2 separate regions of the Homo sapiens genome follow, and region 1 is linked to region 2. The links are contacts of gene promoters, found by promoter capture Hi-C in human tissues and cell types (Jung and others, 2019). All regions are on one chromosome and are shown on one strand. The core of a region is centred on a gene start or on the middle of the fragment in contact, and the rest is flanking DNA. Distances in the headings are between cores, read along the strand shown.

Evidence for each region. Contacts are between HindIII fragments. The study calls those that stand out against the background at their distance.
Region 1: a contact is called between a fragment that was not itself captured here and the fragment with the promoter of CHMP4B in region 2, in 1 of the 25 tissues and cell types used here (hippocampus).

The regions. Positions count from the first base shown.
Region 1 is chr20:35,658,639-35,664,132 of GRCh38, reverse strand. All of the region lies in intron 1 of CPNE1 (copine 1), which reads left to right. It overlaps RBM12 (RNA binding motif protein 12), which reads left to right. Exons shown (of 3, transcript NM_006047.6): 2 at 5,119-5,203. Among named protein-coding and RNA genes, the nearest start is that of CPNE1, 3.5 kb to the left of the region's middle. RefSeq lists enhancers at 15-64, 1-410, 405-524. The HindIII fragment of the contact is 4,098 bases long and covers 750-4,847 here.
Region 2 is chr20:33,809,786-33,815,423 of GRCh38, reverse strand. CHMP4B (charged multivesicular body protein 4B) reads right to left here and starts at 4,076. Exons shown (of 5, transcript NM_176812.5): 1 at 3,766-4,076. The coding sequence starts at 3,955. It overlaps ZNF341-AS1 (ZNF341 antisense RNA 1), which reads left to right and starts at 4,325. Exons shown (of 4, transcript NR_110623.1): 1 at 4,325-4,384. RefSeq lists enhancers at 2,783-2,852, 2,681-3,521, 4,288-4,367, 4,107-4,401 and a silencer at 3,948-4,227. The HindIII fragment of the contact is 9,541 bases long and covers 1-5,638 here.

The sequences.
Region 1 (5,494 bases), core at 1,549-4,048, 1.8 Mb before region 2:
TTACTCGAGGGTGTAGCAGTTTTGAGAAGCCGGCGTCTGAAGCTAGGAGGTGAGGGGGTGGGGTGAGTACGCCTCCTGAGGCTCTGAGAATTGTAGTAAGATGCCAGGCCTTTGGTCCCCCAGTAGGGAAGGGGCTGCTGTGAGCAGCACATTTACGGCTCCCTCGGGAGAGGATCCTGTGGCATTTCAGGAGGACGAGATCCAGTGGGCTGCGGAGGGTGGGTGCTTTTGATGGAGAGTTAATTGAGTTTCTCTGAAGCTTGGCTGCATTAGTTTGCAGCCACGTGAATTGGGTGGTGGGAGGGACTTTGAGGATCTACAGGTTAGTGACGGGGTTGGACGCCAGTGCAGCAGGCTTAGCTGCTAGGTTGTAAACGTACGGGCTTTTTGTGTGCCTCCAACGTGTGCTTTATAGTGACAAATCTGAGGGGCTCTTGTGAGGGTTACTCAGTATTAAGTGCTAAACATTTACTCATCTGCGTGGTGTCATGCTGAGAATTGCAGACTTTAAGAGATTTCTGGGCCCTAAAACCCTCCTTGGCTCCAGGATTCTCAGAGATAACCTAATATAAATTGAAGAAGTTGGTAGGGACCGTTTTATATTATTCAATAATAGAGTCAGTATAACCCACTGGAAAAAAGTGTGATGGCAACTGAAGGTTTGTTGAAGGGAGAGGCTAGGCTTGTGACTGCAGTATTTTAGAGCTTCTTGCTTGAATGGTTTGAAATGGTGTAATTTTTGCAAAATGCAGTCTTAGCAACAAGAATTGTCTGGGACCTTGTTAACTAGTGTATATTGTTAATGCATCTCAGAGCATTTGCAGTCGAGAAAAATCCCTCAAGTCTGGACACATAGGGAAATCTTGTTTTTTAAATTATAGAACTACAATACAAGACTGGTTGTACTTGTTTTTGAAATTTGGCAGTTTTGATAAGAATGGAGGATTTCTGGATTTAGTGGAAAGTGTGCAGACATTTTCAAAGAGTATAAAAAGTTGGGAAGAACTGTTACAGGTGGTTCAAATAACGTTATGGTAATTTATGAAGAAAGTGAAATGTTTGGCGTGTTTATACAAAACAATGAAGATGTGCTTAGTATATATTATTGGACAGATTTTTAATGAAACAGGGAATACATTTTTATATATGCTCGATTAAATGTGATTACTTTGCTTATGGATTGTAATGTATAATTTTCATTTTCTTTATGTTCAAATCTGTTAGATGAAAAATGTGAAGCTTTAGAAATAATTGTGTGGTTACTTGCAACGTATTGTTACATGCTAATACCAGTACTCTTTGGGCTTCTTTCACCTTCTTTGACACGTCAAATGTTTTGATGATTGAGTATTGAGAGTTTGGGAGTTGTTAGTACAGTCTTTAGGTGTGAAACTTGATGTTGTGGGCCAGTGTGTTCCAGGTGCTGGAATCCAGTGACAGTGTTGATAGTTTTTACTCCATTTTGCAGAGAGCCATTCTGTCATTGTATGAATGTATGTTTTCTTCTGTAGATGTTGTAGGAAGAACCAAGTGTCAGTAGTTGGTTGCACAAAAGATGCTTTTAGATGTCCCTCCCTAAAATGCAGAGACTGATGATGTCCACTTTTATATCTTTTGTCTGGCCCACAAGTGCTTAATAGTAAATGTTCATGGAGTAAAGGAATATTGTTAAATGTTTTCAACTAAACAGAAAAGATAATTTTATCTAAACTACAGTTTTATCAGATTTTACTACCACACCCATATACCTTTTGGTTTGCACAAAATTTAATTAAGTTTAAAGCCAGCTTTTAAGACTCAAAAACAGAGTGAATGTGGTTGTTTAGGTTAGAAGTATAATTTTGCTCTGAAGTGAAAATGAAGGTAGCAACATTTTTGTTGGCATTTGGGGGGATTGAAACATAACTTAATATTTTTGACAGGAGGAATATCTTATTTAGAAATGTCTTCTGATTTGCTGCCTTTGAGTACGGAATGGAGGTTAATGGAAAAATTGAGTAATGCGTTATAAAAAGTACACATCTCCATCAGTGTCAGAATAATTTTTTCATTAAGAGTGATCCCAGACTTTGATATATGGTCCATTTGGGAATGGGGAACAAAATCAAGTGGCTGAAACTGTGGTTGTTTCATAATGTTTATTATAATGTGATTATACTGTTTTTAGCATTGTGCCCGTTGTGATTGGTTCTCTGTTGCTAATCTCTGAGGTGAACATTTGAGAGTTTGTTTCTTTTGGATCTGAAGAACCTAGCTCTGCTGTACCCTGGTTCTTGTTGATTAAAGAGTGATAACTGAACAAAGTTAAAGTTCACTTTTGGATGTTTACTACCAGATGAAGAGTGAAAATAGTCGTTTTAGTTTGTGCCTTGACTTCTTGATGAAGAGATTTGTTGTCAGACATTTTTTTCTGAAATTCCAAGTGATTAGAATGGCTAGTAAATACGAAAGTCTGTCTTGCCATAATATGTTAAATTTTTGTAGCAGATACTTGTGATTTGTGCATGCATCCGGTATTTTGTCAAGTTGAAGCAAGCCTTTATGTTAGGACTAATTCCTGATAATATGAATGGAAAACATACTAAAGCCAGCTTCTTGTTTTAGATCTTCTGAAGTATATCAGTGGCTTTAATGACAAATCAGGCCCATTTTCTCCTTTCCTATCATTATGCTGTATGTATAGATAGAATATGTATTTTAGATGTTTTATTGTTTAGTTATTATTTTAGTCTTATCCTTCTAAAGTTCAGCAAAGCTTTAGGTAAATGGCGTGGATTTTTGAAATCCTGCATTCAGTCGCTAGCTGACATTTAGAATACAGGAATAGTAGTTTCCTGGAAAACAGTGACACTTATGTTAAATTCTTGTGGTTTTTACAAAGTGAGGTGTCAACACAGAAGTATTTCAGTTCTATTTCCATTTACCTTTCCCTTTTGAAGAGGTATAATACCAAGGGTTGTGAAGTTCTGACTTGTAGCATCAACTTTCTGCATGGTTTTCCTTGGTATGGGGTGGGGTGGGTATTCCTCTTTGCTGAAATAGAAGAGAATCATAAATTTCTATCTGGATTGATTTTGTGCTTTAAGTTGTACACATAAAACTTGAACTAGGCATTTGTCAAATTCAGCTGGGCCTTTCAGCCTTGCCTTGTGGAATGAGAAATATCTTCCTTTTAAAGGTAATTTCTGGTAACCTTTTAGAAATTTTTGAGAGTAGACCTGGTGAGTTCCCTTTGAGCTTAACTGGCTGACCCCAGATATGTCCTTCTCAAGATAGACATACGGTATCTTTTGAGTTTGCAAGGGAAGAGGCTGAGAGGAACCTTCTTACCTTATATTCAGGCATATGCCCTGGCCCCATACCTGACCTTTTGAATTGGAATCTCCAGTAGGGATCAGATGTTTATTACAAGTTCTAGAAACTAGAAAGTTACCCTGTTATGTGGCTGCTGGAGTCAAACCTGTACATAAATATTACAGTACTTCATGCTCTTGCTCATTGCTTTACTTGAAGCAGGTTTTTTTCTGTTTCACATTTTCCTTTGTGACCTGTTAAACTACTAGATATGGCTTTCAAATGAAGAATTTTTAAACTCCTTAGACTTAGTTAGGCTAGGCCAGGCGTGGTGGCTCACACCTGTAATCTCAGCACTTTGGGAGGCTGAGGCGGGTGGATCACTTGAGGTGAGGAGTTAAGAGACCAGCCTGGGTAACATAATGAAACCCCTGTCTCTACTAAAAATACAAAAATAAGCTGCGGGTGGTGGCGCAAGCCTGTAGTCAGTCCCAGCTACTCCAGAGGCTGAGGCATGAGAATAGCTTGAACCCAGGGAGGCGGAGGTTGCAATGAGCCTAATGAGCCTAGATCGCGCCACTGCACTCTAGCCTGGGCGACAGAGCGATACCCTGTCTCAAAAAAAGAAAAAAAAAAGAGGCTAGATTTCTACAACATGTAAAAGATTAATACAATGCTCTAGACTTTTGATTGTGTTGATTACATATTTGCATAGCTTTTTGTGGTAAAACCATCTCACTATTCTTTAGCAACTTGAGTAGTTGACTAGACGATGAATAGTTTGTCCTTTAGAAAATCACACAGATTTTTGAAATATGTTTTACTTTTTGGCGATGAATATTAAGGTCATTAGTTGTATTTTGGTCTTGGAAGATACTAATTTAAGATGAGCATCATTTGGAAAAGTAGTCGTAGGTAATCTTAATACTGAACAGTGGCAAATTTCTTCTCTCTCCGAATTAAAACATGACCTTTGAAAAAAAATAAAAAGCAAAAAATGACCTTTGAATATAGTTGTCTAGACATTTGGTCATATATGCTTGTGACTTGTTAATAACCTCACCAGTTTGGAAGAAATGACAGTGAAAGATGAGTGACCTGTTTTTATTTTGGGATATACTCTTAATATGTCAGGCATTTTTAGGGTGTTTTTAAATTTTATTTTATTTTATTTATTTAAATTTTACAAGTTTTTGAGAACTGTTGTGATGTCAGAGGAAAAAACACTTTCCCTTAATATTTTGTTAATATTTTGAGCTCCAGTGGAATTAGTCCTTATAGCAAGAACTCATACTTCATTTGTTTTGTGATGTTGGATGCTATTTTGTGCAAAATAAAATATATTGAAAGAATAATTGCAGTAATTTCCATGAGTACCCTTGAATTGCTATCTTAAGTTGTCCAAGAATTGTTATTGTGCGAACTTGTGCCTTTTCATCACAAATTTGGTGAGAACCTGGGGAAATAGACTTGTGTTACGGAGTTTTCTGGACTGGTTTAATTATAAAGTGATCAAAGCAATTAGCTGTGAAGCTGAGCTTTATGACTGTTTTAATTTTCAGTGGATTCGTTATTGGGCTAAGTTAATGACACTCTTGTAAATATATAATTATTTTGAGATACTCAAATTTGAAAGCAATACCAACTAAAAAGCATGTGTGGGATTTTGTTACGGTGTCTTTCTTTTTTTTTTTTTTTTTGATATGCATTCTAATGAAGTACTCTGGTGGTTTCAGACTCGCCTTCGTAATGTACAGTGTGGCCTGTGCGTGTTGTTTTGTGTTTCCTGCATTGATTTTTGCCTCCGTTTATTCTCTATTGCAGTCTAAAAGTTGGTTTTAATTGGTTGCCCACAGGATTGACTTGGCCTCTACTTCTTGTTAAGGAAATTCATCTCTTGTTTTATCAGGTAAGAGATTTTGAATAGAGAGTTCGTTTTTATACAAAATAAAATGAGATAGCTTATTAAGAAATATGAAAATATATGTAGCAACTATATTGTGTGTGTGTGTGTGTGTGTGTGTGTGTGTGTGTGTTTTTGTTTGCTTGTTTTTTGTTTTGAGACGGAGTCTTGCTCAGTTGCCCAGGCTAGACTCTGTTGCCCAGGCTGGAGTGCAGTGGTGCCATCTCGGCTCACTGCAACCTCCGCCTCCCGGGTTCAAGCACTTCTCTGCCTCAGCCTCCCGAATAGCTGGGATTA
Region 2 (5,638 bases), core at 2,827-5,326:
AATTACAACAAATCACCAAGTCTCTTTTGATTCTCCTTCAGAAAAGTCTCAGACATGTATTATTTCTCTTCCAGTTTCCCATGCTTCTACACTAGGCCCTTTATTCTCACCTGAAGAATTGCAAGTCTCCTTGTAATAATGATAATGGCAAGCATTTATCGGTCACTTACCATATGGCAGGCATTGTCCTAGGAGCTTGGCATGCGTAACATATTTTCATCCAATCAGGCAGATACTAGTACCCTGATTTGTGGAGGAGGAATCTGAGGTACAGAGTAACCTGCCCCAGGTACCCAGCAAGGAAATGATGAAGCTGCAGCTCAAACCCAGGTCTGAAAGGCACTATCCTTGCCCCTGATGGGATTCTTGCCTCCAGTCCCTTCCTGGTCAGTCTACACTTCTTCCTTTAAGCTGCTGCTAGAGTGCTCTTTCAAAATTCCAAACAGATATGATGACTCTCTGCTTTAAAAGCCAGCCAAGGGCTGAGCACAGTGGCTGTAATCCCAACACTTTGGGAGGCTAATACGGGAGAATCGCTCGAGGCCAGGAGTTTGAGACCAGCCTGGGCAACAGAGCGAGACCTTGTCCCTACAAAAAAAAATGTTTTGAATTAGCTAGGCATGTGCCTGAAGTCCTAGCTACTCAGGAGGCTGAAGTGAGAGGATCATTTGAGCCCAGGAGTGCCAGGCTGCACTGAGCTATAACTGCACCACTGCACTTCGGCCTGGATGTCAGAGCAAGACCCTGTTGCTTAAAGTGAATGAATAAATAAAAATAAAGGACAGCTAAGGGCTCCTCACTACTTCCAGGTCAAGGTCCAAAGACTACAGGCCACTCTCAGTGTTATCTCCTGTCCCACCCACAGACTCCAGAGGCGACACTGTCACTGCCTCCCAAACACACCCAACTCCTTGCTGACCCACCTCACGTTCTCCTTCCTCTGCCAAGTCTTCTTTATCCTTCCCCCCAAACAGGTGCCGCCTCCTCTGCAGCCTCAGCCCATGTACACACTCATGTTTCTGCACTGTTATAATCATTTCCTGCTCTCTCACACGCACATACACTCCCACCCCACACTTCCAATTCTGAGTTCCTGAAGGGCTGACACAGTGTATTTTCATCTCTGACTCTCAAGGTCCCAGCATAGTGGCAGGTGAATAAGCAGACTAACTGAATGGTAATGTGGTAGTGTTCACCTCCCCACACTAAGACCTTCCTCCTAGAGGATGCTAAAAAGAAGGGTAGGTTACAGTAGCTCCCATCCTCTCAAGCAAACTCAGGGAGACAGCCTGCCTTCAGCAAGTCTGACAACTGAGATTGGTCCTCCACAGTTGGCTGGCGAGCTCTCCTGCAGCCCCTTGAAAGTCAATTCGATCGCCAAAACTGCAGAAACGGCTGGGTGCGATGGCTCATGCCCATAATCCCAGCACTTTGGGAGGCCGAGGCAGGCAGATCATGAGGTCAGGTGTTCAAGACCAGCCTGACCAACATGGTGAAACCCCATCTCTACTAAAAATACAAAAATTAGCCAGGCATGGTGGCGTGCACCTGTAATCCCAGCTACTCAGGAGGCTGACGCAGGAGAATCATTTGAACCCAGAAGGCAGAGGTTGCAGTGAGCTGAGATCGCACCACTGCACTCCAGCCTGGGCAACAGAGCGAGACTCCGTTTCAAAAACAAACAAACAAACAAACAAACAAAAAAACAAACTCCAGAAACTAAGCTAGCTCCAGACCAAAAGATCAGAGGAAAATGGTAAACTGACACCCTCCTCCTGCATTCCAAAATGCAGAAAGCTAAAAACACTGATTCTGATGACCATAAACAGAGGATCTGGACTGAGGGAGAGTCATCAGAGGAAAAAGCTAGAGACAGCAAAATATAACCCTGTTCCCATCTCCACAACTAAGCTGGAGTCCAAGCCACAAATGGACCACTGCAGCTGCCTCCTCACTGTTCTCCCTGCTCCCACCCGCATCCCCCACCCACTCTCCAAAGAGCAGCCAGATGATGTTTTAAAAACTCTGTCAATAAGGACACGTTCCAACAAAATACTCTCCAAAAACTTTCCATCCACTTGGAATAAAATTCAAACTCTTCACCAACAGGTTCAAAGTCCAAGCCCCGCCCCCTTTATTCCATACCACTCTCCCTCCAAGCACTACATTCTGGACACAAGGGTCTCTCTCTTCGGTTTCTTACAACCTGCTAACCTCCGAGCCTTTTCCCATGCTGCTTTCCACGCCCAGAAGGCTCCTCCCCCTTTTTTTTTTTTTTTTACAGAGCTGGTTCCTTCTCCAGACTCAGTTCAAACTTTACCTTTTCAAAGACGCCTTCCCTGACCATTCTATCCAAAGTGGCATCCCTCCCACTCCACCACTCCCTATCAGACCATCTTTTTGTGTGTTTAGTACTTATCACCCCCGGACAATATTTTCTTCATTTATTTTCCTGTTTCTGTCTTCTCTCCCATTAGGGTTGAGGCCGTGTTTTGTTCACCCCTATGAATACAGCGCATGCAGCAGGCACTAAAAAGAATTTCCAGAATATCTGTTGACTATCAGCAGAGAAGCATCCTCCAGATAGGCTATTTTGTTCTCCTATTAGAATGGAGAAAACATCGATTTAGCCCCTACTATGTGCTGAGCACTGTAAATCCATGATTTTCCTTTCAGAAAGGTAAATGAGCTCAAGGTCGCACTGCTAGTCACTAGCAGACTTCTGAGTGAATTACCTCAATCCTAAACCCCTCTCAAGGGGAAGGGATGTCGTTCTGTGATTCACTCTCACATGGCCATAACAAGAAAAAGCAAACATTTCTAAACTGCTTTACAGTTTTAAAGCATTTTCACATTCATCTCACTTAAGAAAAACACAAAGCACTTGGAATGCCCAGAAAGCCATACGACAACAGGAAGTAAAGTAAGCAGTGCCTCAAGATTCAATACTGGGGCCCTGAATCCTAGTAGTGGGGACTGGGGAGCAGTCGGGAGTCTCTATTTCTGGTTCAGACGGATGGGGAAGCGGTGAGTCATGGGGTGAAGGCTTGCGCCACGGGAAACTTTGGTAAGGTCAAGCTACGAGGCAACAAAAAGTGAATCACAACGCTGGAAAACACCTTAGGCCTCAACAGAGGCCGAACTCTGGCTGACGGATGGGGAAACTGAGGCCTCAAAGGGAAAGCAACTTGCTCAAGTTCACTCAGCAAGTGAATAGAGCAGGAATCGGGGGTCTCATCTCCCCCAGTCCCCTTTTCTCTCCAGCAAGGAGGCTTTTCAACGAGAATTCTGAGACAAGAGGACAGGGGAGAGGCCAAGGGGCAGCTCACAGATTCCACCGAGGAGTCGGGAGAGGGCACAGGTAGGACCAGGAAGCACAGAAATGCTAGGATGGGGGCAGAAATGAGCCGAGGAGGAGGCAGGGGCAGTAGCTAGGCAGGTGGGTGAGGCGAGAAGGAAAAGGCGGAAGAGAAAGGGACAGAGTGAGGGCGGAGGAAAGTGCTGTGAGATTGGGGTCTGAAGGGACCTGGCGGGGTGGAGAGAGGCTGAGGGGAGAGGGCAGAATAAGTCTGACGATGGAAAAGTCCAGGGATCGGGGAGACATTGAAGGGAGTCGGGGAGGGGGTCCCAGACCCGGCAAGAAGTCTGACCCGGAGAGTTCCAGGGTCAGACCAGACCCCGAGGCGAGTCTGATGAAGGTGAAGTCCGGGCCCGGGGAGCCTGGGGGGAGCCCGTGGCAAGTCTGAAGGGGCCGGGCAGCCTCACCGCGCTTGTTTTTGGTGCCGTGCTTCTTGGCGGCCGTCAGCTCCTGCTCGATTTTCTTCTCCAGGAACTCCTGTTTCTTGCTTAACATCTCTTCCGTGTCCCGCAGCCGCTGGATGGCCTCCTGGGGGGTCGGGCCGCCCTTGCCGGCCTTACCCCCTCCAGCCCCGAACAGCTTCCCGAACACCGACATGGTTGCTGCTCGCCGCGCCGGCCTTCGCCGCCCGCTCCGGCTCGGCTCGGCTCGGCTCGGCTCGGGTCGGCTCCGGCGCCCGCTCCCAGTCCCGCCGCTCCCTGCCGCCGCAGGCCTCTCCTCCGCCTCCGCCTCCGCCCCGCAGCTGGGCCCGGCCGCGCCACCTCCCACAGGCCCCCACGCCCGGCCCGGCAGGCGTCAGGGCAACGCGCCACTGACTACAACTCCCAGTGGGCAACGCGCCGGCCGCGCCTCAAATCTAATAGGGGGAAGCGTGCTGCATGCCGGGAAGCTATAGTCTTCCGGCTTCAGGCGCTCCCCGGCGCGTCTTTTGCTGTAGCTGGGGTCAAAGGGCGTGTGGCATTCTGGGAAATGTAGTCTCCTTGGCCTGCGCTCTGTAGGAGTGGCAGAACAGTAAGAGAAATGACAGTAAGTGTGCAACACTGCTCAAAAATTTATTGCTAGTATGGGATACTGCCATGCTTGAACTTCACATGTATATTCATGTGAAGTTGTCTTAAAAGCGTGAAGGCAACAGTTGTTTCCAATTTCAACCTGTCAATTCTGTGGTCACAGAAGCAAAGCAGTATCTTCTCCAGTTAAGTACGGTAGTGTCCCCCTTATCTGAGATTTTACTTTGAGTAGTTTCACTTGGCCAGCTAAGGTCTGACAGTATTAAATAGAAAATTCCAGAAATAAACAGTTCATAAGTTTTTAATTTCCATTGGCCTAATGAAATCTCGTGCTATCCTGTTCCATCCTACCTGCAATGTGAATCATCCCTTTGTCCAACATACCTCTACCATCTGTTAGTTACTTACCAGCTTAGGAGTTATCAGATGGACTGCCACGGTGTTGCAGTGCTTTGGTTCGAGTAACCCTCATTTTACTATATAATGGCCCCAAAGTGCAAGAGTAGTAATGCTGGCAGTTTGGATATGCCAAAATGAAGCTGTAAAGTGCTTCCTTTAAATGTAAATGTGGAAGTTCTGAGCTTAAGAAAAAAAATCGTATGCTGAGCTTACTGAGGTCTGCAGTAAGAACGAATCTTCTAGCCCTAGAATTGTGAAAGAGGAAAAAGAAATTCATGCTGGTTTTGCTGTCGTACCTCAAACTGCAAAAGTTACAGCCACAGTGTGTGATAAGTGCTTAGTTAAGATAGAAAAGGCATTAAGTTGTATCCTTACTTACAGGGGAAAAAAAGAAAATAAATTTTTTTACAAAAGAAAAGAAAAAGCATTAAGCTTATACGTGGAAGACACGAACAAAAAATGTGTTCCAACTGACAGCAACCTGTTACCCCCCAGAAAGCATTGAGCCTGTATAAAGGCTTCAGCAAGGAATCTCCTAAAACCAGTGGCACCAAGCCACTTACTGAAAGTAATGGATGGTTGCACTGACTTAGGAATAGGTTTAGACTGCAAAATATAAAAATTACTGGATGGGCTGGGCACAGTGGCTCACACCTGTAATCTCAGCACTCTGGCAGGCCTAGGCGGATGGATCACCTGAGGTCAGGAGTTTGAGACCAGCCTGGCCAACGTGGTGAAACCCCATCTCTACTAAAAATAAAAAATAAAAATAAAAAAATTAGCTGGGCGTGGTGGCGCACGCCTGTAATCCCAGCTACTTGGGAGGCTGAGGCAGGAGAATCACTTGAACCTGAGAGGCAGAGGTTGCAGT